2 separate regions of the Homo sapiens genome follow, and region 1 is linked to region 2. The links are contacts of gene promoters, found by promoter capture Hi-C in blood cells and fetal thymus (Javierre and others, 2016). All regions are on one chromosome and are shown on one strand. Each heading gives the region's core, a stretch centred on a gene start or on the middle of the fragment in contact. The rest is flanking DNA. Distances are from core to core; before and after follow the strand shown.

Region 1 (2,810 bases), core at 135-2,634, 390 kb before region 2:
TCTATCTGGCAAGTTTTACATATAGCTCGTCATGACGACCAATTTTCTACAATTTACAATAAGGTGGCAATGAACACAAAACAAATATTGCCCAATGAAACATTGGTTTACCAGGCAAAACAAATACTAGGTAGTGGCATAACACATTAAAGTCTTTCCCAGCAGCCCAAGACAGCATGAGAGGTGCTAGCCCAAATATTGACCTACGACTCTTTACAATATTGTAGACACCACCAAGAAAATCATACTGGACCTTGCAGAGGGGCTTGCTCCTTCCTAGGATGAGGCTTTACATCCTTCCGTTCTTCCACAGAGTTTGTATTCTTTAGTAAGATATCTGGACATAATTTAAACTCCAGCATGTTTGATTTTTCTGTGTTACCTTTCACCGGTAAAAAGGTCTTATGTTTATTTTCCTGTCTCTTATCTTTATGAAGCTTCCTGGGTGAACTTTCTAATTTGGTGAGAGAAATGCTTTCACGTTCAGTGCATTTAAACCCAACTCTATTCAGATATAATTTCTTTTGATCCTTTACTTGGGGAGGCATTTGGCTGAATTGAGCTTCGTTGCTTATATTGGTTAATTTGTCTAATTTAGTCTTATCAATCCATATTTTATCAGGCTGCTTCCCACCAACTTTTTCTTTAACATTCCTTAGAATGTTGTATGTTTTAGACTCCTGAGAATGGTGGATTTTGAGGTTTTTACCATGGCTTGTCAAGCCATTTAATGATTCTTTAGAGGTCTGCACGCCGCTGCTGTGTTTCTCATTTGATTTCCCACAACTTTCAACCTGCACGGCAAGTTTACTTGGTCTCATATGTTCAGAATCACATGGCACGTTTTTCACACAGATTTTCTTCGATGCTTTATTACTCAGAGCTTCTTTATGCTTCTGCCTTTGTAAATACTCCTTAGGAGTTAGAATTCTACTAAATTTAGATGAACTCGCTTTCGTGTCTACAGACTTAGTATTTGATACCATCTTTTCTTTAACAATGGCTCTTTCGTTTGGGTTTGACAAAGAGTCACCTAATTTGAATGTAGCTCCCACACTTCCTTTCTGTTCTTGTTTATCATGTTTCTTTTTCTTTACTTCCATATCTAATACGTTCCCTTGGTCTAACTTTCGTTTTTGTTTGAAGCTAACTGATTTGAGTTTCAATTTTATCTTTTCTGGTGATAATGACTGTCCCAAAGAACTATGCTTCTTATACACATCTTTATTTGGCAAAAAAGCTGTTTTTGTTTTTAGTGGACGTGAGTTCTGTGTTACATGTTTCTTCTGTCGGGTTTCCTGAGAAGCTTGTTCATAAGATGCTGTCATTTTATTACTGGAGTGAAAGGTTACCTCGTGAAACCTCAATTTTTTTCTTTTGTGATTTTGCAAGGGATTTAGTTTATCACATTTAGATGAAAACTGACCAGCAACTAATTCTTGTTCTGTCCTTGGTAAGCTTTTATGTTTTGTTTTGGGTGTATCTTTTCTACTGTCGTCTTGTAGTTCAGGAAAATGACTTTTCCCATCTGGAGGAGTCTTTGGATTATTTACAAGGCTCTTAAATTGAACAACAGTGACATCTCTATCAGAAGTTCTCTCTCCTTGTTTACAACTGTTGGTATCCAAAGGAGAACACTGCTCTTTTTGTTTCTCTTCCTCTGAAGATGAGTTCTTGATGGAATTACACTGACACTGGGGTACTCCTTCGTAAACCATGGAGAGCCAGCCCAATGCACAGCAGTGGATATCATCTTTCTCAGAGTCCAGTATCACAGAATCACGACTTTGTCCAGCTGCAGGTGCCTGCAGGTCACACTGGCTAACTACTTCTGTGATGGGCTCTTCTTTCTGAGGTTCTGCCAACTTGTCTACTACATAGGGTTGATCATCCTGTTCAGGAAATATTTCTTTCATTTGCTCTGAGCTTAATATTGTAATTTGTATTTGATCTGCTGGGTCTTTGGAGTCAGAACTGGTTTTATCAGCAGTTTGATCTTCTGAGGTCTGGTATGTAGTTTGCTGGCCCACAGAACCTTCACGTGTATTCACAGCCTCAATGCCATAAGGAAACTCTTTTAGAAGTTCTGACAGCTGGTCATGTAGGTATAAGACAGGTGCCTTATCACTGTGGATTTCATTTCTTGCAGGATCTTGGGGAGTATAGTTGCTGGATGCATCTATTTCCTGAGGGTAAATATCCTCCTGAATAGCAGCTGACGAGCACGTATCGTTAGCTGTGCTTTTTTCAGTGGCATGCTCCAAACTACTTTTCTCTAGAATAACTCTGTTTGTTTCAAGATTGTTAAAAGATGACTCTAAGGGTGGCTCTGACTTTGACTGATCACATATTTTATGTGAAACATCTGTGCACTGTACAGGTTTATCTTTTTGAAAACCAAAGTCTTTATTTTCAGTGGTATTATCTAATTGTTTTTCTGGTTCTCTGCTGCCAATCCCTTGCTGATTGGGTAGAGAAGGTTTCTGTGGCTCAACCATTTTCAAGGGAAGAGAGCTGAATATCTTTGCTATTTGGGAATTGTAAGAGGTATCACCTTCAACCAGAGAACAAATATTGTCAATCTGTAATGTATCACTACTCACAACAGTACTATTCCTTGACTCCTGTGAGATTTGCTGATCGTTCATAGGAGAATGGATAGCTGACTCTAATTTGTTATGCTTTCCTTGATTGACATTAGGTGTGACTTCTGAATTACCATTAGTTGACTCATTCTGCTTTTCCTTCTGAGTTAGTGGAAAAATCTTGGTTGATGTTGCTGTACTTGCTACTGGTCCACTAACATCAAC
Region 2 (2,774 bases), core at 245-2,744:
CCCCACACTGAGGCTAGCCCTCTTATCGGCTGGCCAGGGCGAGGAGGGGTGTGTGCAGGGTCGCCCTCGATGCCGCAGCCGGGGCCAGTGGGCACGAATGCGGCCCCACGCCAGGCTTGGCCTCCGAACCCGCTAGGCGCGCGCGCACGGTAGAAGCGCGCGCCTCCGTCCCTCGCGAGCGCGCCCCCCACCCCTCTCCGTCGCACGCGCCGAGCCCCGGCGCCCCCGCCCGCCCCGCGCTCCCACAGCCCGAGCGCCGCTCAGCTGACCCGCGGGCGCCAGACGCGGCGGCTCTCAGCTCGCGAGCGCAGCTGCGGCTGCGAGGGCCTCTCAGGCCGACACTCCCCCCGCGCCCCTCCCCCACCCGGCCGGGCTCCGGACCCGCCGCGCGCGAGCCCGCGGCCGCTTCCCCCGCGCCGAGCGAGGAGGCAGGCTGCGGCGGCGAGAGGCGGCTGCGCGGCCATGGGCGCGCCAGTGTCGCCCTAGGGCGGGCGCACAGACCACAGCCGGAGCGGTGGTGGCAGCCTCCGCAGAAAGCCTTCCCGGGCGGCGGCGGCGGCGGCCCCTGGAGCAGCGCGGCCGGGATGAGCGGGAGCTGCGCGGCGCCCGGCCCGGGCTCGGGCTCCTCCCCGGCCGCCTGCCGCTTCGCGCACTACTTCGTGCTGTGCGGGATCGACGCGGACAGCGGGCTGGAGCCTGACGAGCTGGCGGGTAAGGCCAGGGCTGCGGCGGCGCTGAGCCCCCTCAGGGGCGCGGGGGACGCTGTGGGGACGCGCGGGAGGCGGGGTGCAGGCTCCAGACAAAGTCAGCTCCCGGTGGCGCCCTCCCGCCGCTTTCTGGCCGAACTGGCGCTCGGGCGCGATTTAATGACATTGTTATTTATTCCGCGTGCGGGCTTTGCGGCTGCGCCCACCGGGGCTTTCGCCTCCAGGCGCTGGGTTATTAATAACAGGCGCGGGGGTGGCCCCAAGGGCACGGACCCCGCCTGGCGCGCCGGCCCCTTCGCTTGCAGCCGCACTCGGAGGCGGCCGGTGAGTCACCGGGCGCGCGGGCTGCCCCCCGACCGCCGTGCCTGCCTCCCACCCGCCAGCCACCCGGCCCCGGCCGCGAAGTTTCGGCCCCGCACGTGACGCGGCTTTCGGGCCTCTTCGGGAGACGGGGAGTCGGACTCAGCTCGGCTCCCGCCGGGGTAGCGTCCGCGGAGGAGCCGGTGGCCGTGCGGAGCGAGCGCGGGGCGGGGACCGGTCGGACTCTGCCCTCTGCGCCGCCTGCCGCTCTGCGGTGCCGGCCAAGTCACCTTTTGGAATCCTGTGGATTTGGCCGCGTCTGGGAGCTGGCAGGGACCTTTGGACGCTCGGGACCCAGCACCGCGCTTTGTTGACACTGCCTACACTGTTCCCGAGTTTAAATTCAGTTGGGTGCACCGTGTGTTAGTGCCTGGTTTTCCCGGAGGGGTACCGGTCCTTCCGCTTGACTCATTTGATGGCGCAGTGCGGGGCTGTGCTGGGCAAACGACGCCGTTAAAAGGGGCCGCTAAAGGGCGATGGGCGGGGGCAGGGCAGCGGAGTGCGCAGTGTCGAGAGGAGGCCGGGGAGAAACAACTGATTTCATTTTTCACGCCTGTTCCTTTCTGCTTGCCTCCGCGGGATCTGAATCTTGATTTGTTGTTGTTGTTAAATGGGTGAGAGAAGTGACATCTACCGCCTGAACTTTGTGTTAAAGACTTAGGTCATAGCCTTTCAGAACAACTTCCTTTGGACAAATAATTCCTTATTGATTGCACTAACGTAAATTTTTCGCTTTTCCTTTGGTGGGGGTGGGGAGACTGGGAAGAATATATTAAATAATAAACAATAGTAAACAAAACTGTTCAGCCTTAAAATACAGTCCCCATCAACCCACGTCTTGGCTATCTTCTTCTTAACTCAGCTTCAGAGCAAAACATTTTCTTTTTTTCATATTCTTCGGAGGTAGAAACACAAAACATTTTCAACAAAAACTGTAAGTCTAGTTTTAGTTAAAAAAAAATTTGGAGAGATAATAGAATACCAAGTTTTTCCGTATGTGTAATTATGTAATCACATTGTTTCTTCAACTAAGATTTCATGTACATGTTAAGAATGGCTTTGTTAAAGGATATGAAGAAAAAATGTCTGCAGAGAGATTTGGAGAGATTCTTCTCGAGATTGGTGAAGGAATATTGTTATTTTTCTAGACTCCTTTCTTCCCTAAAGATCCTAAACATTTGTGGCACCAGGGTCACTTGGAGGCCTTCTGTCAGTGATGACTAATGAAAGGAAAAAAGCCTGTATTTTTCTTTTCCGTTTGCCTACTGAAGCTAAAACTGTACCTTTTAGGTGTGACCTAGGACTCTTTAGGCACAGAGAGAATGATGTTAACAAAACCATCAATTAGACTTTAATGCATTTTTAAGAAACAAACTATGATGTCTCTTTTTGCAAAACTGTGTGAGTGTGGGTGATTGGGATTTCTGCTTCTCATAATATTTAATGTATTCAGGTAATAATGTATTTTGCCTTGTAATATTTCAGTATCATTCATCCAACAGTTTTGAAAGCATCTATCTGTAGTCGGTTTTTTAGGCACTGGGGACAGCTGTGAAGAAAGCAGTCAGAAATCCCTGCCATCATGGAGCATACGTTCTAGTGTAAAGAGATAATGAAAATACAATCATCTCTCCGTAACCATGGGGGATGGATTCTAGAGTGTCCCCCACACCAAAATCCTCGGATGCTGAAGTCTCTTATAATAAA

What was found. The method cuts DNA at HindIII sites, captures the fragments that hold promoters and counts their contacts. A CHiCAGO score of 5 or more calls a contact.
Region 1: a fragment that was not itself captured here is called in contact with the fragment with the promoter of DENND5B-AS1 in region 2 in 1 of 17 cell types (total B cells); the score reaches 5.8 in total B cells.

What each region holds. Positions count from the first base shown.
Region 1 is chr12:31,983,401-31,986,210 of GRCh38, reverse strand. RESF1 (retroelement silencing factor 1) reads right to left here. Exons shown (of 6, transcript NM_018169.4): 4 at 254-2,810. Among named protein-coding and RNA genes, the nearest start is that of RESF1, 25 kb to the right of the region's middle. The HindIII fragment of the contact is 152 bases long and covers 1,309-1,460 here.
Region 2 is chr12:31,588,643-31,591,416 of GRCh38, reverse strand. DENND5B-AS1 (DENND5B antisense RNA 1) reads right to left here and starts at 1,494. Exons shown (of 3, transcript NR_046909.1): 1 at 1,298-1,494. It overlaps DENND5B (DENN domain containing 5B), which reads left to right and starts at 281. Exons shown (of 21, transcript NM_144973.4): 1 at 281-711. The coding sequence starts at 585. RefSeq lists silencers at 131-420, 491-760, 911-1,250 and an enhancer at 1,681-1,760. The HindIII fragment of the contact is 7,998 bases long and covers 1-2,774 here.